Linked DNA regions of Homo sapiens: all the other regions are linked to region 2. Evidence: promoter capture Hi-C in 16 types of primary human blood cells and fetal thymus (Javierre and others, 2016). All regions are on one chromosome and are shown on one strand. The core of a region is centred on a gene start or on the middle of the fragment in contact, and the rest is flanking DNA. Distances in the headings are between cores, read along the strand shown. Region 1 has its middle 17 kb from the start of CITED4. Region 2 holds the start of ZNF684 (zinc finger protein 684). Region 3 overlaps RLF (RLF zinc finger). Region 4 holds the start of CITED4 (Cbp/p300 interacting transactivator with Glu/Asp rich carboxy-terminal domain 4). Region 5 has its middle 45 kb from the start of CTPS1. Region 6 overlaps RLF (RLF zinc finger). Region 7 overlaps LOC105378671 (a long non-coding RNA gene).

Region 1 (3,675 bases), core at 726-3,225, 310 kb after region 2:
CTTATGGCCAGTCCTCCAGTTCTGTGCTTTCTGAACCCCTGACCATCCAGCCAAACCATTAGCCACTGCCCATAAATCAGTGTAGATCCATACTTCTTGTCATCTCTCAATCAGACAAAATGGACAACCAAATGTACTGAAGGACAGGTAGGATGGAGCCAGGCCTGGGAACTGGGGTGGTGGCAGTGGTGGTGATGTTCCAGGAAAAGGCACAGTATGTGATAGGGTCCAGAGGCACCAGTGAGTGTGGTAGATGAAAGGAACAGAAAGAAATCCCGTGGCTGGTCCCAGACAGCAACGGAGAGAGGGGTGCAAGATGGGACTTTAGAATTAGGGGTCAAAGTTTACAGGATTTCATTAATCATTCCAAAGAGATAGGACTTAGCCATGATAGCAGTGGGGAGACAATAAAAGATTTTTCTCAGGCAGCACACTGGGGTAGATTTGCATTTTAGAATTTTTTTTTTTTCCTGGGATGGAAGATGTATTTGAGGGAGTAAGTGTGGGTGTGGGGAGAGCAGGTAGGAGACTGCTGCAGTCACCCGAGCAGGAGGTGCTGGTAACCCGAACAAGTCCCATGACATTTCACTAATTGAGTTAAATGTCTATTGAGCACCCGCTATATGCCAGACCCTGCCTCAGCACAATATACAGGATGAACAGACACGGGAGAACAAGTTACAGCCCTGAGGTCATCCAGCCCCTGGGGGAGACAGATGCACAATTAACCAATGCACAGCTACTGTTTATCTTCTAAATTTGCCTGGCTCAGCAAGGAGAGTTTGCAGGTGGCTCTGGGAGTCCCCAAACTGTCATCAAATACGGCCTTGACAGCAGATACAATTTTAGCTTGGTGTGTCATTTATCTATTGCTTTGTAACAACTTATTTTAAAACTTAATGGTTTAGGACAGATGTGGTGGCTCATGCCTGTAATCCCAGCACTTTGGGAGGCCGAGGTGGGTGGATCACTTGAGGCCAGGAGTTCAAGACCAGCCTGGCCAACATGATGAGACCCCCATCTCCTAAAAATTACAAAAATTAGCCTGGTATGGTGGCGTGCGCCTGTAGTCCCAGTCACTCAGGAGGCTGAGGCAGAGAATTGCTTGTACCCGGGAGGTGGAGGTTGCAGTGAGCCAAGATCATGCCACTGCACTCCAGCCTGGGCAACAGAGCAAGATTCTGTCTCCAAAACAAACAAACAAACAAACAAAAAACCACCAACAAAAAACCTTAATGGCTTAAAATAACAACTATTTTATTTTATTTACTCTTGATTCTGTGGGTCAGCAATTTGGGGTGAACTCAGCTGAACAGCTCTGCTGGTCTCACCTGGGGTCACTAATGTGCTTGCAATCATCTGGCATCAACAGGGTCTAGATGGCCCAAGAGGGCCTTCCCCACGTGTCTGCAATCTGGTGTGAGTTGGTCTGCAGGCAAGACGGCTCATCTCTGTTCTATGGAGCTTCTCATCCTCCAGTAGATTAGACTGTACTTCTTCATATGGCAAGAGGGCAAAAGCAGAAGCCATCAGGCCTCTGGAGGCCCAGGCTCAGAAGCTGTACCAAGGGGCTCAGCTCACTTTGATGGGTGCTCTGAATACGTTGCGATGTTTACACTCTTGTAGATCTAAAAAAACCCATGCAGTTATTTCTCTATTTAGATAATTTATTTCATGTACTTTTGTTTTTTTGAGAGTGCAGAGTGCAGTGGCCACTGCACTGGGCCATATTTCACGTACTTTTGACAGCTCCAATTGTTAAAACAGTTTCGTTTTCCCTCTGAGAAGCTGAGAGGCACATCTTCCCCTACCACCCACCTCTGTGTATAGCAGGACCGTGATAGCTGCTACCACGGTGTGTTGGTCTGTGTGGGATGGCATAGCAAATATCATGGACTGGAAGGTCTAAACAACAGAAGTGCATGATCACACAGTCAAAGTTCTGGAGGCTGGAAATTCAAGACCAAGTTATCAGCAGGGTTGGTTTCATTCTGAGGCCTCTCTCCTATGATTGTAGAGGCTGCCTTCTTCTGGTATCTTTGCATGATTATCTCTTGTTCTCTATGTACACAGGTCTGAGGTCTCTCTCTGTGTCCTAATAATCTCCTCTTCCTCTTCCTCCTCCTCCTCCTCCTCTTCTTCTTTGTGTTCCTAGTTTTCTTTTTCTTTTCTTTTTTCAAGTTTTATTTTAGGTTTGGGGACACATGTGCTGGTTTGTTACTAAGGTATATTGCATGATGTGCATGATGCTGAGGTTTGGGATACGACAGAACCTATCACCCAGGTAGGGAGCACAGTACCCAACAGGTCATTTTTCAACCCTTGATCCCCTCCCTCCCTCTCCCTTCTTGTGGTCTGCAGTGTCAATTGTTGCCATCTTTATGTCCATGTGTAACTAATGTTTAGTTCCCATTTATAAGTGAGAACATGCAGTATTTGGCTTTCTGTTTCTGCATTAGTTTGCTTAGGATAATAACCTCCAGCTGCTCAAGTTGCTGCAAAGGACATGATTTCCTTCTTTTTATGGCTGCATAGTATTCCATGGTATATACGCACCACATTTTCTTTATCCAGTCCACCATTGATGGATACCTAGGTTGATTCCATGTCTTTGCTATTGTGAAGAGTGCTACAATGAACATACAGTTGCATGTGTTTTTTTGGTAGAATGATTTATTTTCCTTTGGGTATATATCTAGTCATGAGATTGCTGAGTGGAATGGTAGTTTTATATTTAGTTCTCTGAGAACTCTCCAAATTGCTTAACTAATTTACATTCTCACCAAGAATGTATAATCATTCCCTTTCCTCTGTAACCCCGCCAACATCTGTTATTTTTTGACTTTTTAATAATAGCCATTCTGACTAGTGTGAGATGATATCTCATTGTAGTTTACGTTTGCATTTCTCTGATGATTAGTGATGATTGATGCTGAACATTTTTTCATGTTTTTTGGCCACTTGTATATCTTCTTTTGAGAATTGTCTGTTCCTATCCTTTGCTCACTTTTTAATGGGGTTGGTTTTTGCTTGTTGATGTATTTATCGCCTCTTCTTATAAGGATACCAGTAATATTGGATTAGAGCTCACCCTAAAAAACCCATTTTAACTTGATTACCTCTTTAAAGGCCCTATCTCCAAATGCAGTCACATTTTGAGGAACTGAGGGTTAGAACTTCAGCATATGAATTTTGGAGGGATGCAATTCAGCCAATGACACCTGCAACAGGGATTTCACCCACCAACCTGACGCATTTTCTGCTGTAAATGCACAGGATCTGAGAATCACTCGGGTTTGCCCCATCCCAACTGGCAGAGCTGAACAGAGCTATAGACATCATGGAACCAAGTGATTTGAAAACCCTTTTTTGAAGGCCCAGGAACCTTTGCTACAGCATAACCTATTTGGAATCCTAATATACAAAATATAATCAGTGCAATAAAAAATGGGAACCTCCCAGAGGTGGCCTCAATTCTCCCCTTACATACACATTGAGCATGTGCCTAGCATTTTGCTGCAGGCAAAATAGATCTGTCTCTGTGATGTATCCTTTATGTAACTATTGTAGTCGATTGTATTCTTTGTCTGAAAGTCTTCCTTCCTTCCTTGCCATTGCCATGGTTACCCTTGCATGGTGTGTACTTGCCTATCTGTCTTACAGCAGGTTTCCTGG
Region 2 (3,711 bases), core at 1,196-3,695:
TATATGCTCTGGGATTTGCTTCAAAATACTATGCAATGGGGTTGGGGGTAGAGATGAAACAGAATTGGCCCTGAGTTGATAATTATTGGAGTTGGGGGATGGATACATGGAAGTTCACCACTATTCTTTCTACTATTGCATAGTTTAAAATTACCATAATGAAATGTTTTGTAAAATTAAATGCCTAATTTTTGGGTTGCACAAAATACATACTGTTTCTAATAAAAATACATAAGTAATTTGGTCCAAAATACTTTAGATATTAAGATGTAATGAATTTATTCTACTACCCATGTCTTTAATATATGTCCTTTCTGTTGAGAGAGAGGAGAGGAGAGGGGAGGGGAGGGGACGGGAGGGGAGGCAGAGAGAGAGAGATGTGTTTATTGCATAGAAAATGCTAGTAAAGTCAGTGGGTACTAATATCACTTGATCTTAGCCAAAAGGCTGAGAAGCGATAATGGCTACTAATATCAAGCCAGTTCTTAATGGTGCCAGGCAATAGTACTACATTTCCTTAATCTATTCACTTGCTCACATTCATAAATCATACTTTATCGAATCTCAGATGCCATTGATTATAAGTTGTATTATTATTTTATATACTAATAAAAAACAATGCTCCTGATTAAACTATGGAATGCCATCACTTGTAAGACAGCAATTTCACAGATGTTAAAATATGAAAAAATCATGTTTCAAAATCATCATAATACGGTATTCATCTTTTCTGTCAAGTCTAAAATACTTTCCCCCTATCTTCATTTCAGCTTCCTATTTCACTGGGAAAATAGAAGCACTCAGAACAGGGCATCCTCTTTCTCCTACCACCATATTTGTCCACCTGTTTGGATCTGTACTTATAAACTCTGCCTCCCCTTTTATTTCAATGGAGATGAATTATCCATACTCTTACTTAGAATGATCCCTGTGATTGTGTACTGGATTCCATCCCTTCTCTTCTCAAGGACATTCCTCCGAGTAACTAGCCTGTCTATCCTGAATTGTGTATTTCCCGCCTCTACTGGATCTTTTGTTTTATTTTATTAACTAATTCATTTATTTGAGACAGAGCCTCGCTCTGTCGCCCAGGCTGGAGTGCAGTGGTGTGATCTCGGCTCACTGCAACCTCTGCCTCCCGGGTTCAAGTGATTCTCCCGCCTCAGCCTCCCAGGTAGCTGGGTTTACAGGCGTCTGCCACCACGCCCGGCTAATTTTTGTATTTTTAGTAGAGACGGGGTTTCACCACGTTGGCCAGGCTGGTCTCCAACTCCTGACCTCAGGTGATCTGCCCACCTAAGCTTCCCAAAGTGCTGGGATTACAGGCGTGAGCCACTGCGCCCAGCCTAGATCCTTTTAATTAGTACATAAACTTACTATAATTTCTTCCATCTTTTTTATTTTATTTTTTTGAGACAGAGACTAGCTCTGTCGCCCATGCTGCAGTGCAGTGGCGGGATCACGGCTCACTGCAGTCTCTACTGTCTGGGCTCAAGCGATCCTCCCATCTCAGCCTCTCAAGTAGTTGGGACTTCAGGCGGGTGCCATGCCAGGCTAGTTTTTTATTTTTTGTAGAGATGAGGGTCTCACTATGTTGCCTAGGCAGTTTCAGACTCCTGGGCTCAACCAATCCTCCCACTTTGGCCTCCTGAAATGTTAGGATTACAGGCATAAGCCACCACACTCAGCCCCATCTTTGAATTAAAAAAAAAAAAAAAATTAGAACGTGGAAAAACGCAACAACAAAAGATTAACAAAATCCCTATCCCATGATAGCCTTATTTTTCTGCTCACCTTAAAAACAAAACTTCTTAAAAGTATTGCGTATATTTGCTTTCTCCATTTCCTCTCCTCCCATCCTTCCCTCCAACTCCTATCAAATTTTCATCAGACTTTATCAAACTTCCACCACTGCCAAAATGGCGTTTCAACATCACTGGTGACCATTGCTACAGTGGCCCATTCTTAATTCTCATTTTACTTGACCTATGAGCAACATTTGAGACAATGGGTCACTCCCTTCTTGAAACACTTCCTTCCCTTGGTTTTGCAGATCTAAACTCTCCTACTTTTCCATCTACTTCATGGATTATTCCTTCTCAGTCTTCTTTGTTGGATCCTCTTCACCTCTCCGACTTAACCTGGTGCATTGCTAGAAGAAACCCTGCTGAGTAAGAGCAAATTGTTTTTAGCATACCGCCGATTTTACTTTCCAGTATTTAAAAATGCTGTGTATCCTTTTAAATGAAAACGACTTAAAAAGCGTGGCTCTCAGGCTAGCAATAGAGATACCAACCCGGGAATCTCCGCACCACCCCCCAAGAGGAAGCAGCGTCTGACGTCTTCCGGAAACGAGCTCCACTGGCCTTATGGGAAATGTGGTCTCCGACGGATGGCCTACACCCGGGAGGAGTCCAGGAACTCTAGGTGGACAGTTACTTCCGCACACGCGTAGTAGGACGGTAGCCGGTATTCAATCTTCAAATCAGCGCCGCGGGAAGTGCGGGCGGGTGTTGCTCCCCTGTCTCTGGACGACGCTGTGACTGATCCCAGGCTTGGAGCCGGAGCTGCGAGCGAGGCAGTGAAAGGGTGGCAGGTATGGCTTTGCTGGACTCGGAGGACGTAAGAGAAAGGCGGGGACTGGCTTCTAGGTTTACCCTACCGAAGATAAAACTTTAGTCTCCAAGCGCAGTGACTTCAGGTTTGGATATGTGGGTCCTGTTCAACTCGAGTAGCTGAGAGAAAGCAAGAGTTGGGCTCCGACTGGCACTGGGTAGATGTCCAGGGCTCTGGTGGGACTGGGAGAGGCTCAATTTGCATTCCTGCTCTTGTAGGTCAAGGTCACTATGTAGGAGTCTGTTCATCTAACTGTACCTTTCCTGGTTCCAAGAGCATAGTTGGCCCGACTGGAGCCTGCGACAATTTTAAGCCGTGTCAAGGGATCCAGTGGAAACTGTAAGCTATTTCAAGGGATCCAGGAAGAAAGCATTCTTGAGAAACTGCTATGGATTAGAAGGGTATTCTCAGCAATCATTTGAAGTAAATGCTATTACCATTTTGCATATGAGTTAACTGAAGCTGAAAGGTGAAATTACTTGCCTGGACTCACACAGCTTAGTAAGTGGAAGAACTGAGATTCAAACTCAGATACATTTTCTCCAAATTTCTTTTTTTTTTTTTTTACAGTATAGCATTCCTGCATAAAACAGAGTTGGGTTTATTCTCCTGAAATGTTTGAGCAATGAATGCTGAGTAAATTTCGATTTGTAGTCATTTTGTAGAGTCTCTTGGTGTATCTGCAGATCTTCCAGTGCAGACTGTGTAAATGAAGATGTGAGTCCCCGGTTTGCCCATTATACCCTTTCTAGAGCCCCAGCAGTTCTAAGCTCATAGGAGATGGCGAGTTTCTACAGAGAGAAACATTTGGAGTTTAAACTGAAGGATCCAGCTTAACAAAAAAAAAATAAAAAAAAGTGTTCCTGGGTCCCTGAATCCAGCCTTCTCAAGAAAGCCCAACCTAATTTGCAATCTCTTATCCCAGCGTCAGAGTAGAAACCAGAGAATCACAGGAAGGAATCATTTTTAGACTTACGGAGCTTCAGAGACCAAGCTTTTAAGTGAGTCAACTCATTCATTATTTCTTCAGGATAAATTTCTGGGAGGAAAAAAAATAACTGTTTCAAGAGGAACCACTTGGTGCTAGATCAGTAG
Region 3 (3,469 bases), core at 75-2,574, 350 kb before region 2:
GCCTGGTTTAGGTGAATGGCTACAGAGATAAAGCATAGGGACAGGAGACAAAGATATTTCTGAGATAGAATCAACAAACTTTGGTGTGGTGGTTTCAAAGATAGTTTTTTAGCTCTGGCTCCTGAAAGGAGGCAGATGGAACATAGGAGGAAGAGCATATTTGCTGGGGAAGATGTTTGGTTTTGGACATGCTGAGTTTGAGATTTGAATAGGACATCCAGATGGAAATATGTAATAGGCAGTTGAGGTATATAGCAAGGACTTGAGAGAGTAATTTGAGGGTAATCTGCTTGGGATGTGAATGAGAGCACCGAATAGTCAAATATGGTGCGTAAGTGAGCTAATTTTTTACTTATATATCTGACCCCTTAGTATATATCATAGCCTTTCAAGGGCAGGAATAGAGTCTCCATCCTTACTTCCCAGCACAGTACAAAATAGTAGGTATTTGTGGAATGAGTTTACTGAAACAAAAGAGAGAGGTCATTAATTTGGTCACTGTAGAATGAACTTTAGGAGGTCATCTTTATCATTTATTGCCCCTTTTCTCTTCAGTTGTGATTTCAGTTCCTAAAGAAAAATAAGAGACCGTGGCTGGGTACAGTGGCTCACACCTGTAATCCCAGCACTTTGAGAGGCCAAGGTGGGAGGACCACTTGAGGCCCAGGAATTTGAGACCAGACTGGGCAGCAAAGAGACCCTGTCCCTACAAAAAAAAAGTTTTTTTTAATTGGCTGGGCATGGTGATGCACTTCTCCAGTCCTAGCTACTCAGGAGGCTGAGGTGGGTGGGAGAGAGGATCACTTGAGCCTAGGAGTTTGAGGTTATAGTGAGCTGTGATTGAACCACTGAACTCTAGCCGGGTTCAAGCAATTCTCCAGCCTCAGCCTCCCAAGTAGCTGGGACTAGAGGCATGCGCCACCACGCCCGGCTACTTTCTGTATTTTTAGTAGAGACAGGGTTTCACCATGTTGGCCAGGCTGGTCTGAACTCCTGACCTCAAGTGATACACCTGCCTCGGCCTCCCAAAGTGCTGGGATTACAGGCGTGAGCCACCTTGCCTAGTCCAGTTTTTTAAATGCAAGATTAGGTTGAAAGGATTACAGCCATCCTGTTATTTGGATGGCTGTAATCCTTTCAACCTAATCTTGCATTAAAAAAAAAAAAAAAAAAAAAAAAAAGCCGGGCGCAGTGGCTCCCAGCACTTTGGGAGGCCGAGGCGGGCAGGTCACGAGGTCAGGAGCTCGAGACCATCCTGGCTAACACGGTGAAACCCCGTCTCTACTAAAAATACAAAAAAAAAAAAAAAAAAAAAATTAGCCGGGCATGGTGGCGGGTGCCTGTAGTCCCAGCTACTTGGGAGGCTGAGGCAGGAGAATGGCGTGAACCTGGGAGGTGGAGCTTGCAGTGAGCCAAGATCGTGCCACTGCACTCTAGCCTGGGCTGACAGAGTGAGACTGTCTCAAAAAAAAAAAAAAAGCAAAAAAAAAAAAAAAAAAAAAACCACAAAGGCTGGATGCGAGGTGGCTTTTGCCTGTAATCCCAGCACTTGGGGAGGCCAAGGCAGGCGGATCACTTGAGGTCAAGAGTTCGAGACCAGCCTGGCCAAAATGGTGAAACCCCATCTCTACTAAAAACAGGAAAATTAACCGAGCCTGGTGGCGCACAGTTGTAATCCCAGCTACTCAGGAGCCTGAGGTGAAAGGATCCACTTGAATCTGGGAGGTGAAGGTTGCAGTGAGCCGAGATTTCACCACCGCACCCCAACCTGGGTGACAGAGTGAGACTTGATTAAAAAAACAAAAAGAAAGAAAGAAAATGCCTGGCTAGCCACAGTGGTTCATGCCTGTAGTCCCAGCTACTTGGGAGGCTGAAGTGGGAGGATCACCAGCAGTGATAGAATGAGACTCTATCTCAATTTAAAAAAAAAGTGATAATGAAGAAGATTGATTATTCCAGCCATTCTTCACATACCCAGAGTATGCTTATAGTGGGTATAAGAGATCTCACTACTTAATTTGAACCAACACATGAGGGGGTAAAGATTTAGGAATATAAAAAGTATAAATTAGTATAGAGCAAACTGGAAGTTCCTCAAGAGTATTGAATCTTTGAAATTGTGTAGCTTACAGAAGTCCTGGTGGAATGTCTGTCAGAAGCTATTAGATTGGTGGCAAGAGCGTTCTAAGTGGACAGGTGGATTGTGGAAAGACTAACCCCATCTGTATGCACTCTGTCCTTCTCTTTGCATACTTTAGTTAGCAGTTGGTTAATTTGCATGTGTGGTTTCAGCCATCATGTTGTATTGACTCATTCTGAAAGCTCTGTGAGGATAGGCCACATGTCTGCCCGCCCCCACTGCATCTAGCACTTTATGTGTGATAATCTATTGAAAAATATTTGTCAAATGAATAAAATGGTGAATGTATTCAGCAGACATTTAGTGAGACTTGAGAATGTCCTGTGGGGGTGGAAGTGGGTAGAGGAGTGGTAGGCCTATAAGGATTGATGAGACATAATGTCTGACTTTAAGGAACATAAATCTGGCACTAAATATAAATTTTTGAAACTCCTTAATTCTTAGATTAGCCAATGCAGACAGTAAGTAACTTACTGACCTAAACCAGAATTTTTTTGTAACATAGATTTTAATAAATTTCTTTGTTTTTTGTTTTTTGGTTTTTTTTTTTGAGACAGTCTTGCTGTGTCGCCAGGCTGGAGTGCAGTGGCGCAATCTTGGCTCACTGCAACCTCCGCCTCCCAGGTTCAAGCGATTTTCCTGCCTCAGCCTCCTGAGCAGCTGGGACTACAAGCGCGCGCCACCACGCCCATCTCTAATATTTGTATTTTTAGAGACGGGGTTTCACCCATGTTGGCCAGGATGGTCTCGATCTCTTGACTTTGTGATCCGTCCGCCTCGGCCTCCCAAAGTGCTGGGATTACAGGCGTGAGCCACAGCACCTGGCTGATTTTAATAAATTAGGTGAAATCTTAGTTATGTAACAGACACCCATTCTGCATTCTTTCTCTACTAATTCAGCTGGGAAGCAGGATTGCTTAGGGGTCAGTTTTATAATGTTACTCAGTTTTTTTATTTTATTAAAATTAGGGATTTGATTAAGTGGTGACATGTTGCTTTTCTGAAATTACAGAAGGGCATTTATCTAAAGTGACTGTGACCAAGTAGCAAGATACTTAATTGAGTAGGTCGGTATACTAAAAATAGCTCAACTGACTGTAATGATTCAGGTATGCAAAGATCAGATAATGCAATATATTAGTTAAGGGAACTTTTACTGTATATGGTATAATGGTCTATGGTATATTTCCTTGTAAGTTGTTTCTCTCTCTCTCTTTTTTTAAATGTTAAAGTAATCAAGATGATGCTAACAGTCAGTTACCAGAACTCATACAGGGACCATTTGTGTGGAAACTAAAGCTGCAGAAAATCCAGCAGAATCCTGCGCTA
Region 4 (3,292 bases), core at 744-3,243, 330 kb after region 2:
GATGGTCTCGATCTGTTGACCTCGTGATCTGCCCGTCTCGGCCTCCCAAAGTGCTGCTTAGCACTGTTTTCTAGAACTCATCACAGTCTTCCTTGCAGCAAGATTAGTTTGTTTTCAGGCCTATCACCCACCTCCTCCCACCTGGGCTGTGATTCCATGAGAACATGCACCAGGTTGACACAGGGCCTGGAATAAAATCAGCACCAATTTGTAGAATAATAATTGCCGTCACTTACTGAGAACTGCCCAGGTATTTGGCACTGTGCTAAAGGCAGCGTAACTACCTGAGGAGACGGGGACCATCTCCCTCTGGGAAACCGCCTCAAAAATCAGAACGGATGGTGTCTTGGGCAAAGGAGAGAGTCAGGGTCCAAAGCTAGGCTGTCTGAACTCGGTGCCACCCAGCTCCTCTCTGGCAGAGCACCAAGCTCCCCCCACCCTACCCTAGGAGCTGGGAAGCCCAGTGGGTTACCCCACCACCCAGTGGCAGCCTCTGCCCTCCAGGTTGTGACATAACAATTGCACAACCCACGAGATATTTTTGAAAGAAACTGTCGGTTTCCTCTCCTGGGCACTGCTGGGGACTGTGGCCCCCATGCCATCCAGTGTCTTCAGCAACCTTGGGACTTTGGAAGCTAAATATAGTCAGGGCTCGGGGTGATAAGGAAATGAAAACGGCAAGACTGTAAAGTGACCCAGTTTTATTTTGGTTTTGGAGGCCAGACAGGGCATTGCTCCACGGGTTCGGGCTGTACAACCTTCCCCTCCTTGAGGTGGGAGGCCCAGCAACCACAGGGCCCAGGCAGCGGGGTGGGAGGCTCAGGAGATGGTGGCTCTGGGGACCCGATCCCGAGGAGAGAGGGGGCAGCAGGCAGAGGCCTGCAATGGCTCAGATTGGGGGAAGAGGGCGGCGAGGGGGAGAGGACACGATCCAAGAACCAGAGTCCGAAAGCTGAAGCTGGTCCGGTCTCTTTCACTTTACGGCCGAGGCTGGGGTCAGAGAAGTGAAGCCAAACTGTCCTCCCGCAGGAGGCAAGGCCTGGAGGGACGCCAGGGTCCCAGTCCGGTGCCGGGCCCTGCGCACACAGCCGCCGCCTCCACCCTCGCGGAGGGCGCGCGCGGGGCCCAGTCGCTGGGTGCAGGGTCCGGCGGGCAGTCGGGCCCTTTCTCCTCTCCGGCACGCCGGGCGGGCGCCGGCCGCCCTCAGCAGCTCACGGAGCCGGCGGGCGGCGCGGACCCCAAGTCCGAGAAGCAGTCGAACTCGCTCTGGCCCAGGAAGAGCTCGGGCAGCTCGCGCACGCGGTGCAGCCCGAGCTCCAGCTCCAGCGACGTCAGCGCCTCCTCGTCGATGAGTTCGGCGTCCATGCCGCCCAGGGCGTGCGCGGGCGGCGGCGGGGCTGCGGCGCTTGGCGCCGGCTGCGGGCCCGGGGGGCCTCCCGGAGCGTTGGGGGGCGCGGCCGCGCGGCCGGGGTACGGCGTCGCCACAGGCTGCAGGTGCGCGATGCCCGCGGCCGGCGGAGGCACGGCCGGAAAGGGCTGGAAGGAGGACGGCGGCCCGAAGGCCCCGTACGCCAGGGCCCCGGGTTGGCGGGGCGGCGGCGGCCCCAGCGGAGCCCCCCGCGGCCTCAGCCCACTGTCCAGGCCCGGGCCCGCGTACGGCGGCAGAGTCCGGAGCGCATGAGGGCCATGGGCGGCCGCGGCGGACGGCGGCCTCTGCACCAGGCGGTAGCCCTCGGCGAGCATCAGGTGGTCGGCCATGGCGGCAGGCCGGCTGCCTGCGGGGACAGCGCGCGGTGGTCAGCGCCGGCTCCCCCGGCCCGGGCCAGCGGCTGCTCTGCGGCGGGAGACCCGGGCACCGTGCGGTCCCTGCAGCTCGGCCGGGCGGAGCAAAACCAAACCCGACTGGTGCCCCGGCCCAGCCCACTACTGCGCACCTTGCGGCCGCAGCCTGGGGTCACAAAGGCCCGCAACCTGTAGTGCTCCGAAACCTCCGCGTCGCGTAGCTGGGCTCGGCGTATTCTTATACCCAGAGGCGGGGCTTCCCCGCCCTCGGACGCTCATTGGCTGGGCGAGACGCTTCTGGGCGGGCCGCGCACGCCTGCATCTAGGTCTTGGCCCCGCCCCTCCCACTGGAACCCCGCCCCTTGGGACTCCGGCCACGCCCCAGGCTCTGAGCACCGCCCTGGGGCGGGGTATTTGGCACTTTCGGAGGGATTCGGTCTGGCCCTCAGGGCTTCGGAATCGGACTTGGCTGGGGTAGAGCTTGAACTGACCAGAAGGTGGGGTGGGAGGGCCAGAGTTTTAGGCCCCCCAAGAGCTGCAGGATGTCAGGCCTACGCAACCTTTTAACTTTCCAGGTAGAGACCGAGGCTCAGTGGCGGAAGAGGCTTCCTGGAAATACACAGCAAAGCCTTGATCAAAGTGAGACTGCACAGCTACACAGGGCGCATGCACCTTAGCGGTGCAGGGTCCCCGCAGGAGGTCAGCTGTCCATTCCCATAACCCCCAGGAGAGCCTGTTGCTCCCCCTCTAGTTCCCACTGCACCTTGTCTGTTGAAGCATGTACTTAGTTGTTATTAATTTATGGGCACGTCTCCTGAAGGACTTGTTCATCTTCTTCTTCTCAGCACTTGGCCCAGAGCCTGGCCCAGAGCAGGCTTTTAGTAAAAGCTGAGTGAATGAACTAATGATGGAATGAATTGCAACTCTCAGCTGAGCCTCAGTTTCTTCATCTGTAAAAGGTAAAGAACAGCAGCACTGACCCTTTGTGAGGGGTAAGTGAGGGCATGTGTGCACAGTGCCTAGCACAGTGCCTGGTATGTGGTAGATGCTCAAAAGTGTCCCTTAGATGAAAGAAAGGCTATTTAAGTTCTTTTTTTTTTTTTTTTTGAGACGGAGTCTCGCTCTTTCGCCCAGGCTGGACTGCAGTGGCGCTGTCTTGGCTCACTGCAAGCTCCGCCTCCCGGGTTCACGCCATTCTCCTGCCTCAGTCTCCCGAGTAGCTGGGACTACAGGCGCCCGCTACCACGCCCGGCTAATTTTTTTTGTATTTTTAGTAGAGACGGGGTTTCACCGTGTTAGCCAGGATGGTCTCGATCTGCTGACCTCGTGATCCGCCCGCCTCGGCCTCCCAAAGTGCTGGAATTACAGGCGTGAGCCACCGCGCCCGGCCAAGGCTATTTAAGTTCTGTCCCAAAGGGCCTTCTCTTGATAACAGCAATAATAACTTGGACTTTTAAAGTGCTTTACATTCTACAAGTATTTTGTTGGGGGCAGGGCATGGATTATCAGC
Region 5 (3,746 bases), core at 772-3,271, 400 kb after region 2:
TGACCAATTATACTAGTAACTATTTATTTATTTATTTATTTATTCGAGACAAGGTCTGGCTTTGTAGCCCAGGCTGGAGTGCAATGGTGCAATCATAGCTCGCTGCAGCTTCAATCTCCTGGGCTCAAGCCATTCTCCTGCCTCAGCCTCCCAAGTATCTGTGACTACAGGTTTGAGCCATCATGCCTGGCTAAGTTTTTCAAAATTTGGGTAGTGACTGAGTCTTACTGTGTTGCTCAGGCTGGTCTCGAACTCCTGGCTTCAAGTAATCCTCCTGCCAAGGCCTCCCCAAGTGCTAGGATTGCAGGCATCAGTCACTGTGCCTGGCCCTATTTATGCTTTCCTATTTATGTTTTTGATAAATGTTGAGAAGGAAAAGTACAGTGCACAATGGGAGAATAAAACAGATGGCCCAGGCTTGTCCCACGGTTCAAGGAAAGCTTCTTGGAGGATATGCCATTTAAACTAAGACTGAGGATAAGCATCAGTTGCCAGGCCAAGAGGGGATGGAAGGGCATTCCATGCAGAGGGAACAGAGTGTGCAAAGATACTGAGCCAGGAAATAATTTGGCATTTTGGAAGAACTCAGAGAAGGCCAGAGTGGCAAAAGGGCAGGGAATGAGAAGGCAGAGGTAGAAGATGAATTTGCAGAGGGGGGCAGACCATGCATGCCCTGGCAGGGCATGTAAGGATTGAGGGCTTTATCCCAGGAGCATTGGGAAGCCTTTGAAGGTTTCAATCAGAGCAGTGACCAGATCATATCTGCGTCTTAACAAACCATTTCAGAGACTGGTAGAGGATACCAGTAGGAGATTGATCCAGGTGAGAGAAGACAGGGGTTTGGACTGGGGTGCTGGCTGTGGGGAAGGAGAGAAATGCAAGCATGAAAGAAATGGTGAGGAGATCAAAGAAATGACAGAAATAAGTGACTGATGGAGAATGGGCAGCAATTGGAAGAGAGAACTGCTGAGAATGCGTCTGGACTCATGGCCTGAGTGGCTGAACAACTGAAGATGAACCCGCTCACGTGCAGGGAGACGTGATGCATTCAGTTTAGGATATGCTGAGTTGGAGGCTGCAAATGGGGTTACTCGTTTAAGGGGGGGTAAGAATAATACAGAAAGTTAAATCATGCTATATTAAGAATATAAAAGTAGGCAAAGTAACTATAGGTTGAACAGAGACTTTGGGTTGAGAGAGAAATAACTTGTATAATCTATCAAAAAAGTCTGAGTCTGTCCCTTTTTAATTTATATTTATTTATTTATTTATTTATTTATTTATTTATTTAGAGACAAGGTCTCGCTATGTTGCCCAATCTGTTCTCAAACTCCTGGGCTCAAATGATCCTCCCACCTTCACGTCCCAAAGTGCTGGGATCACCACTCCAGGACACATTTTTTTTTTTTAATGGAAAAGATGTCACAAATGGAGACCCAGTTTAGTACAAAGGAGATGGGGGTGGGGCGTTTTGGTAGGGTTCAGGGCACTGTGGATTCTCAGCAGTCACTGACTCTTACCAGTCCTGGAAGTGCGTCAAGCAGCTGGACAGAAATCACAGTGTGGACACTGGTTGGCACTTAGGGAACTCATTCATTCGTTGACTTTACAAATATCTATTTATCTGTCAATGTTCTAGGGCTCAAGGAGCTAATTCCTTAGCTTCTAACTGGAGGAGACAGACAACAAACACGTGAGTGCGTAATTTAACATCAGATCAACTGCTGTAAAGGAAAAGAAAGTCAAATCAAGGGTTAAAAAGTGCTGGGAAGAGCTCCATGATTTGAGTGGTCAAGGCCTCTCTGAAGGACAGACATCTGATTTCCAATAAAACAATTAAGAAATTACATATTTCCTTTTGTTACCTTTAAATTTATATATTAAATAGCTGACAAAAAATATTTAAAGCTTAATAGAGCATAAAATAAAGGCCATAAAAATGAACAATGAAACCAGTAGAAATCAACAGAAAATCGATGGAAGAAAATGGTAACAAAAGAATTTCAGATCATTCCAAAAGCAGTAACTCAGTAAGAGGAAAAGATAAATTTGCAAAGCAGGTATAAATAGCCTTCTGGAGTCTTTGGTAATCCAATTACTAAAAAGGAATAGGTGGGTACAGTTGTTCATGCCTGTAAGCTTAGCACTTTGGGAGGCCAAGGTGAGAGGATTGCTTGAGCCCAAGGGTTCGAGACCAGCCTGTGCAACATAGCAAGGACCCCCAAATCTATTTTATTTTATTTTTAAATAAAATTTTTTTCTAGCCCATAAGATATGGCAGAAAGACCCCATAGCAAAAAAAAAAAAAAAAAAAAAAAAAAATTAGCCAGGCATGGTGGCATGCAGTGCAGTCCCAGTTAGCTACTCTGGGGGCTGAGGCAGAAGGATCACTTGAGCCCAGGAGTTAGAGGTTACAGTGAGCTATGATGGTACCACTGCACTCCAGCCTGGGTGGCAAAGTGAGACCCTGTCTAAAAATAATAACAATAGGCTGGGCACGGTGGCTCACACCTGTAATCCCAGCACTTTGGGAGGCCGAGGCTGGCAGATCACCTGAGATCGGGAGTTGGAGACCAGCCTGACCAACATGGAGAAACCCCATCTCTACTAAAAATACAAAATTAGCTGAGCGTGGCGGCTCATGCCTGTAATCCCAGCTACTCAGGAGGCTGAGGCAGGAGAATTGCTTGAATGTGGGAGTGGAGGTTGCAGTGAGCCGAGATCGGGCCATTGCACTCCAGCCTGGACAAGGAGAGTGAAACTGTGTCTCAAAATAATAATAATGAATAATAAAAAGGAGTAGATCATGGACACAGTGGAAAAAATATTTACTTTTGCTGAGTTGACACACATTACTGAACTAAGAAAGCATGAAACTTACAATGTACCACTACAAAAGAACATTGATGACAAATGGATAATGAGAATCAATTAAAAGAAGATTTACAATTAATTGTACAAGAAAATTGAAAATGTCCTGAAAGAAACTTGATGGAGGTTTTCACAACTTTGGCAACAATCTTAATAATTGAAACAACATGACCTAAAGTCAGTTATGATGCTAGACGAAACTTTACTAAATTACCAATTAAAAAGTATTTTTCAATAAACCATTTCAGAAGAAAGAGAGAATCCTCTCTCCCTCCTCTCTGTAGAAACACAAAATTACAAAAAAAAAAAAAAATTTAAGTTGTTATATTGGAGAGGCAACCAAAGAAAATGTAGCCAACATATAGGATATTATAGAGGTATGTCAGATGGCAATTAATGAAAATTTATGTATTTTTCTGGATTCTGTGACTTTTGAGCTATTTGTCAGCTGCTAAAATCTTATCTGTTGTGATTTATTTTCTCATTACAAATAAACCTTCATGTTTATACCTGCATTTGTTAGCTACTGGTAGAGTACTGCTGTGTAACATATGGTCCCCAAACTCAGCGGCTTACAAGTATTTATTGGCATAGATCTGCAGATCAGCTGGGATGCTTTAGGCCACAGCAGCTGTGAGCTAGGTTATCTAAGCTGGGTCAGCTGGATGGCTTTGCTCCCTGTATCCCTCATCTTCCTCCTGGGACCACTGTGCTAACCAGTGAATGCCCTCATGTTGAAGACAAGGTACAAAGAAGAAAGACCCAGACTCAGAAGTAACATGCTGTCACTTCCACTCAATCCCATTGGCCAATGCAAGTTACATGGCCAAGGCCAGAGTCAAGAAGAGTAGAAATACACTCTGACACTTTAGTGG
Region 6 (3,333 bases), core at 252-2,751, 320 kb before region 2:
GAATTCTTTAAGCCTGGGGTGCAGAACTAGGGAGGATCCGTCGAAGTCAAGATTGATCAGAGGTGAAACCTGAATTTGCACAGAGAAACAATGTGGTATACACAGAGATAGCCTCCTATGACTTCATCTACATTTTTAAAAGCAGTCATATGGGCTGGACAGAGTGGCTCATGCCTGTAATCCCAACACTTTGGGAGGCCGAGGCGGGCAGATCATGAGATCAGGAGTTCAAGACCAGCCTGGCTAACATGGTGAAACCTTGTCTCTACTAAAGATACAAAAAATTAGTCAGGTGTGGTGGTGTGCGCCTGTAATCCCATCTACTCAGGAGGCTGAGGCAAGAGAATCACTTGAACCCAGGAGGCAGAGGTTGCAGTAAGCCAGGATCGTGCCATTTGCACTCGAGCTGGGGCGACAGGGCGAGACTCCGTCTTAAAAAAAAAAAAAAAAGGCGATCATAAGAGACCAACTATAAACCTGTATGCTAATTTATTTATTTGCAGTATCAGGTAGTGTAAGGAGATAGATTGCTTACCTCTAATAGCAGCTGCAGTATTTTATGTTTGGGAAAGTTAATCAGACTGAGATGTAGTAATGGTTATTCTCAGCACCTGACACATGCCAAAACAATTCAAAAGCAGCAGCAAAACACTACATTTTGGGTTTGATTCCTCATCCTGTAATAATAACAACTTTACTCTCTCAGCCTTTGCTTAATTAAAACCCGTTTTGTTTCTAATGTTGTATTAGGCATTGGCAAATACAGCAAACTGTATGGCCCAGTTTGTTTGCCAAAAATAGTTACAGAAAGAGAAGTACTAAGCTCAATGATTACTGCCCTAAATTCAGTAGAAGTGTAAAGATAGAGAATTCTGTGTTTATAGAAAAATTGATCCTTGAATTGGAGCTTTAAGTAATGGTGGGGTTTGGATGGGTGGAAAGAATGGTTTGGAGATGACTGAATGGTAGTAAAGCACAGGTACTAATGAGTACTTTGCAGGGATCCACTGGAGAATAAATACCCTGCTTAGGGCAGAGTGGTTATTGAAGTCTTGTGAGAAATAAGACCTGTTGGGGTTGGAAAAGAAGGGCTTGGAAACTCCATTGCATTAATGGTTAGATTTGATGCAGTAGAAATTAAGAAGGCTTTGCAGTTAGGAAGTGACATGTCTGAAGTGGTGTTTTAGGAAGACTAGACAGAAAGAATATGTATTATGTTTAGGACAAGAGATTGTAGCCAGCAAGAGGACAAAGGACAGGACTTGCTGACCGGGCAAAAACAGAGGAGGATGTACAGAGATACCTTCAAGAGGCTCATAAGGCTTCTAGCTTGGGAGACTGGAAGAATAGTGGTGCTCTGCTGCTAATTAGAAGAAAGAATGGGTGGAGGGACAAGGGAGAGTCTGGGAAGATGATAAGCTTTGTTTTATACATGATCTTTCCTGGTTTATTAATAACAATGTTTGGAAACAGGATTTTTCCTGATTGTGTTGAGTTTGCAGGGAACTGTGTTATAGGAAATACGATTTGATACTATTCACAACAGGGGGTTGGCACCCACCCAGCTACCTGTTTTTATAAATAAAGCTTTACTGGCACAAAGTCTTACATTCATTTCTTGTCTGTGGCTGCTTTTGTGCTACAGTGGCAGAGGTGAGTAGTTGTAACAGAAACTCTCTGGCCAGAAAAGCTAAAAATATTTTCTGTCTGTCCTTGTACGAAAAATATTTGCTAACCTCTGCTCTACAAGAATTAAATTTTCCAGTCTATTTCAGTGGTTTAATATCGGTTGGTCTAACCCTCCGTGTTCTACACGTGATGAAACTGAAGCCAAGCTGATAATGTTTCCAAGGCCCTTCCTGCATTAAGCTAATTAGAAAGGCCAAGCCCAGCTGGAATGCAGGTCACCTGGCTCCTTGGTCAGCCTTCTTTCCACTCTACCACCTATTTCCATGTGTTAGACATTGATAAGCCATGGTCTGATTGGGAACATCTTGGTGATATATCATTCTGTTCATATTTATACATATAGGTGTGATTTAAAACATTTTTATCATGATGTGGATTAATTTGTTAAATATACCAATGCAAAACATTTAGTACACATAAAGTTATCTTAAAATTATTTTAAAGGAACCCTAGTATCATCGTATCATCATAACTAGTCAGTCTTTTTTTTTCCTTTCTTTTTCTTTGAGATGGTGTTTCACTCTTGTTGCCCAAGCTGGAGTGCAATGGCGTGATATCGGCTCACTGCAACCTCTGCCTCTCGGGTTCAAGTGATTCTCCTGCTTCAGCCTCCCGAGTAGCTGGGATTACGGGCACGTGCCACCACGCCTGGCTAATTTTTGTATTTTTAGTAGAAACGGGGTTTCACCGTTTCTACTGGTGACCAGCTGGTCTCAAACTCCTGACCTCCTGTTATCCGCCCGCCTCGGCCTCCCAAAGTGCTGGGATTACAAGGCATGAGCCATCACGCCCAGCCACTAGTCAGTCTCTTATCCTAGTGATACTTTTCTTTTGCAAGTGTCAACAGAATTAAAAATAATCTGTAGTTTGCTTTGGAAAATTACTAGTGAGTCACCAGATGTTGATTAATTAGAGTTTAAATTCAGCATACGTTCTAAAGTAGCAGAGTTACACACATATTTGCCATCTACTTCACCTGAGTTCAGGAGAAGAGTTAACTTGAGCAACAGCTGGGAATAAAAGTACATTGTATGTTGGTACCTGGGGGTATCCCAATAATAGGCATATGTAATGGGAAACCGCTGCTGGGGAAGATTTAGCCAGACACATACAATTAAGATTAATTGACTGGGTCATCTGAAAGTCAAAATTCAGAACCTAGTGGGTAAAGAGTGAGTCCTTTCAGATATCTGGTAGGTCTGGAAGGCAGAAGAATTTCATGGAATCCTGGAGTTTTAGGTTGTGATACTTTATTTATGTAGAATTGAATGAGATGACATTGCTATTAACTTTACATATTAAAGGATTTTAATAAAAGTTATAGACTTGGCAGTGGCTCAGTGTCCCAAGTGGATGTTTCCTATATTTTTTCATTACTGAAAGGGGAAGTCTTTGCAAAGATCAGGTTTTCAACATAGAAAAGATAACATTTTAAACATCAAGCACTTCTATTTTAAAGAGCTCAAGAAATCTGTCAGCAGAGTTCTTGGCGCAGTTAAGGCAGGGGTCCGTTTCATTCTTAATCCCTGAATGAACTACATCTTCGGTATCTGACGTGGTTGATAGACACAATAGCAGATGGTTGTTTCTTTTCCTGATGGGGAAAGGAAAGGACAAACAGGATCCAATTTACTTACCAGCCTA
Region 7 (3,674 bases), core at 293-2,792, 380 kb before region 2:
GATGGCAGCAAGTCCAGCCATGGGAAATGATAATCAAAATCAGCTTCTGAAGCACATCCTCTCCCTCACCTGGAAGCCACTCTCACTCTTCAAATGCTTCTCATTTGAAGACCTTTAGAGGACATTATTTTGTGTTATCTATATACTCTCATTCCCCAGGCATGGAGAAGTAGAAATGGGTAAGAGAAAATATGGGAGAAAGTTTCCTGAGCACAAATTAATAGGACTTAGAATCTAACCTGATTAGATTTGGGGGGTAGAGAAAGAAAGGATAAAAAATAACCGTGGGAGAAGCTAGGGTGTTGGAACAATGGTGGTTTAAGATCTTCTCATTCCCTTTACACCAATTGTACCCTCCCTAAGCAAACTTCCGGTGTTAATTTTGCTTCCCAAGCTGACTTTTCTGTAGAGATACCATTATATTTCTTAAGGTAAATTAGTAATTTGGGCTCTTGTGCCTTAATCACAACCTAGGTGAAATGATAGAATCAAGTTATTGAATTTGCAAATCAGAAATCCTAGCCTAATCAATCAGCTCCTTTGATGATCCACAGTATGGGTCTGTCCTCTTGATCATTTTGTCACTCACAGGACAAAGTCGTGAAAATAGATGGCATCCATGGTCAGTAGGTGTGGAGGGACTACAGTAAAGGAAACTAAAGTTATCCTCTGAAGCTGAACCTTATAGGAGTAATACTAGTGACACTGAGTGCTTACTGTGCATCTGGCCTCATTCTCCGCTCTTTGGATAAATCTCATTAGGACCCACAACTATGAGAATTATGAGACACATGCTGTTACAATGTCCACCTTAAGATGAGGAACCCAAGGCTCAATGAAATTAAATGATCTAAAGGCACACAACGAATAAGCAGTCGGAGCTGGGATCCAAACCTGACAAACCTGACCCTAGAGCCCTCTGGGTTTTACCCATAATGAGAAAAATTTACCTTGACCATAGTAGTTGTCCACAATGTTCCATGAATCTAAACAGATGGATCTTAAAAATGTAACCACTCTAACTCATCGTTTGTGTCTTACTCATGATGTATTGAGAGATATCTAGGTTCACTCAAGCCGGTGGTTGGGTTGGGGGGTATGGGGGGGACCTGGGAGTATCCATAGAACTGGAATATGATAAAGAAAGTTGCAATTAAATTAACTGTATTATAACTTCTGAGGGAGAAAAGAATATAAAACCCAGGACTTGTTTTTTTTCATGATGTATTTTTAGCCTCTAGGACAGTACCTGAAACATGGTAGACTTTCAGTGAATATTTGTTGAGTAAATGAATGATGCCACTCAACACTGTCCTGCAATCTTCCTGCACATATCTAGAATGCATTCTTTTTTTCTCACTCTAAAACAACTCTAACAAAGTTTTTACTGTCTCCTCAAAGGCTCAACATTGCCTTTCTCTACCACCTCAGCTTTCTCTCACAAGTCATGGAGCAAAAAGAAGCACTCAGGCAATGACTCCCAAATCTCCCACTGCCAAATCTATACACCTACTTGCATCTGTACCCATACTCTCCAGATTCCCTCCTTTTGAAATAAAAATACATATCTAATTTCTATTGCAGATCAAACTTCTTGTATTCTGGATGCCATGCCCTCTTGCCTTCTCAAGGACTTTTCTCCTGCAATCCCCCCACCCTGTTTTCTACATTAAATTTTCTCCTATTTTCCTGTATCATTTCCATACACATGCAACCATGCTCTAGAATCTCCTGTTGACATGGTTTGGCTGTGTCCCCACCCAAATCTCATCTTGAATTGTAATTCCCACGCGTTGTGGGAGGTACCTGTGGGAGGTAACTGAATCATGGGGGCAGATCTTTCCTGTGCTGCTCTCATGATAGTGAGTAAGTCTCACAGGATCTGATGGTTTTATAAAGGGGTGCTCCCCTACACAAACTCTCTGCCTGCCACCATGTAAGACACGACTTTGTTTCTTTTTGGCCTTCTGCTGTGATTGTGAGGCTTCTCCAGCCGTGTGGAAGTATGAGTCAATTAAACCTCTTTCCTTTATGAATTACCCAGTCTCGGTTATGTCTTTATTACAGGCATGAGAACATACTAATAAACTTATCTTTAAGAATTCCTTCCAAAACCTCATATCCCCTTAATAGCACAGCCCCGGTTTTATTCTCCTCTTTCTCAGAAAAACTTCTGAAGAGGGTAATTGCCCTGCTCTTTTTACTTTCATATCTCACATTAATTCTTCAATCTTCTTCAGACAGGATTCCATACCAGAGATCTACAGAAACTTCTCTAGTTGAGGTTACCAACCAATACTCATGATGTCACATCAAATGGACATTTGTGTGTCCTCACCTTACCCAAACTCTTGTCAGCAGCCTACAAAGCTGACCATTCAGCTTCTTCCTGCCGCTTTCTTCTTTTGTCTTGAGGAATATCACACTCTTGGTTTTCCCTCTGTCTGTTCAGTGGGTTCTGAACATTCTTTGATGGCTGGATCCTACTCCTCTGACATCTTAGTGTTGGCAAGATCTTGGACCCTCCTCCTTCTTTCTGTTTTGAGGTTGCAGACCGTTGGCTCATCAGTCACACTGGACTCACAGGTGGGTATTATTTGGCCTGCAGTTTTCAAAATAGGAAATCGTGTTAAAAAACAAAATCAAATAAAAGAAAAACGACAACAACAAAACCAAAACTGAACTTCCAATTTATCTTGGAGAATTAGCAGACCTAGTAAAATGAGTTCTGTATTCTCATATGGCAATAATTTTCTGGAGCTGAGTACCTGCTTCTTGGGTCATTTCTTAATCAACTCATTCTTTCCAAACATCTTATACCCAGCCTGTGTCATTCATTTAGGTGAGCTGACAAAGGCTAGTAGGAATATAAATTTATGACCCTTAGTTTATACTCTCCCCAGTGGATCTTATTTAAATACCCATTTAAATACCATATGCTTTAAAAAGTCTTCTTTCATAACATTGAGTGCACACAATATGCCCGGAACTACTGTACCAGACACTGGGGATACAGCGGTGAATGACGCAAGTCACTCTACTTCCAAAGAACTTACCTTCTATAGAGGGGAGACACACACAACAGTGATAACATAAAGCCAAATAATATTTGGGCTGGGCGCAGTGGCTCATGCCTGTAATCCCAGCACTTCGAGAGGCTGAGGCGAGCGGATCACGAGGTCAAGAGATTGAGACCAACCTGGCCAACATGGTGAAATCCTGTCTCTACTAAAAATACAAAAATTAGCTGGGTGTGGTGGCAGGTGCCTGTAATCCCAGCTACTTGGGAGGCTGAGGCAGGAGAATTGCTTGAACCTGGGAGGCGAAGGTTGCATTGAGCCGAGATTGTGCCACTGCACTCCAGCCTGGTGACAGAGCGAGACTCCATCTCAAAAAAAAAAAAAAGAAAAATATTCAAAAAAAAGCCAAATAATATTTTAAAAGTGGAAGGAGAGCAAGGGGATAGAAAAGGCTCTTTTAGATAGAGTTGTCAGTGAATGCCTCTATGAGGTGATACTTGAACCTCAATGAAATGAAAAAAAGAAGAGTTCCACAGGCAGAGGGAACGGTAAGTGCAAAATTCATGGAGTTTGTTCATCTTGTTTAAGAATGGCAAGACCAATGTGGCTGGAGCCCAATGAGTGAGATAAAGTAGTGCCTGAGTTTAGAGAGGG

The links. Contacts are between HindIII fragments. The CHiCAGO score rates a contact against its expected background, and 5 or more counts as called.
Region 1: a contact is called between a fragment that was not itself captured here and the fragment with the promoter of ZNF684 in region 2, in 8 of 17 cell types (fetal thymus, M2 macrophages, megakaryocytes and 5 more). The highest score is 8.6, in fetal thymus.
Region 3: a fragment that was not itself captured here is called in contact with the fragment with the promoter of ZNF684 in region 2 in 1 of 17 cell types (neutrophils); the score reaches 5.6 in neutrophils.
Region 4: a contact is called between the fragment with the promoter of CITED4 here and the fragment with the promoter of ZNF684 in region 2, in 1 of 17 cell types (naive CD4 T cells). The highest score is 5.9, in naive CD4 T cells.
Region 5: a contact is called between a fragment that was not itself captured here and the fragment with the promoter of ZNF684 in region 2, in 1 of 17 cell types (megakaryocytes). The highest score is 5.5, in megakaryocytes.
Region 6: a contact is called between a fragment that was not itself captured here and the fragment with the promoter of ZNF684 in region 2, in 3 of 17 cell types (naive CD8 T cells, neutrophils and naive CD4 T cells). The highest score is 5.3, in naive CD8 T cells.
Region 7: a fragment that was not itself captured here is called in contact with the fragment with the promoter of ZNF684 in region 2 in 3 of 17 cell types (total CD4 T cells, naive CD8 T cells and activated CD4 T cells); the score reaches 6.8 in total CD4 T cells.

The regions. Positions count from the first base shown.
Region 1 is chr1:40,843,570-40,847,244 of GRCh38, forward strand. No RefSeq gene overlaps it. Among named protein-coding and RNA genes, the nearest start is that of CITED4, 17 kb to the right of the region's middle. The HindIII fragment of the contact is 9,100 bases long and covers 1-3,675 here.
Region 2 is chr1:40,529,192-40,532,902 of GRCh38, forward strand. ZNF684 (zinc finger protein 684) reads left to right here and starts at 2,446. Exons shown (of 5, transcript NM_152373.4): 1 at 2,446-2,596. It overlaps LOC124904149 (a long non-coding RNA gene), which reads right to left and starts at 2,355. Exons shown (of 2, transcript XR_007066022.1): 1 at 2,297-2,355; 2 at 1,387-2,164. RefSeq lists an enhancer at 2,246-2,540. The HindIII fragment of the contact is 2,309 bases long and covers 1,300-3,608 here.
Region 3 is chr1:40,184,363-40,187,831 of GRCh38, forward strand. The region is part of intron 1 of RLF (RLF zinc finger); the gene reads left to right. Among named protein-coding and RNA genes, the nearest start is that of RLF, 25 kb to the left of the region's middle. RefSeq lists a silencer at 2,184-2,373. The HindIII fragment of the contact is 6,433 bases long and covers 1-3,469 here.
Region 4 is chr1:40,860,370-40,863,661 of GRCh38, forward strand. It overlaps CITED4 (Cbp/p300 interacting transactivator with Glu/Asp rich carboxy-terminal domain 4), which reads right to left and starts at 1,994. Exons shown (of 1, transcript NM_133467.3): 1 at 685-1,994. The coding sequence starts at 1,758. The coding sequence ends at 1,204. LOC124904157 (a long non-coding RNA gene) reads left to right here and starts at 2,015. Exons shown (of 3, transcript XR_007066025.1): 1 at 2,015-2,741. RefSeq lists silencers at 1,781-1,860, 2,021-2,220 and an enhancer at 2,321-2,380. The HindIII fragment of the contact is 10,972 bases long and covers 1-3,292 here.
Region 5 is chr1:40,933,045-40,936,790 of GRCh38, forward strand. No RefSeq gene overlaps it. Among named protein-coding and RNA genes, the nearest start is that of CTPS1, 45 kb to the right of the region's middle. The HindIII fragment of the contact is 231 bases long and covers 1,907-2,137 here.
Region 6 is chr1:40,209,444-40,212,776 of GRCh38, forward strand. All of the region lies in intron 5 of RLF (RLF zinc finger), which reads left to right. Among named protein-coding and RNA genes, the nearest start is that of TMCO2, 37 kb to the right of the region's middle. The HindIII fragment of the contact is 168 bases long and covers 1,418-1,585 here.
Region 7 is chr1:40,145,650-40,149,323 of GRCh38, forward strand. LOC105378671 (a long non-coding RNA gene) reads right to left here. Exons shown (of 3, transcript XR_947232.3): 3 at 2,052-2,602. Among named protein-coding and RNA genes, the nearest start is that of RLF, 14 kb to the right of the region's middle. The HindIII fragment of the contact is 9,755 bases long and covers 1-3,674 here.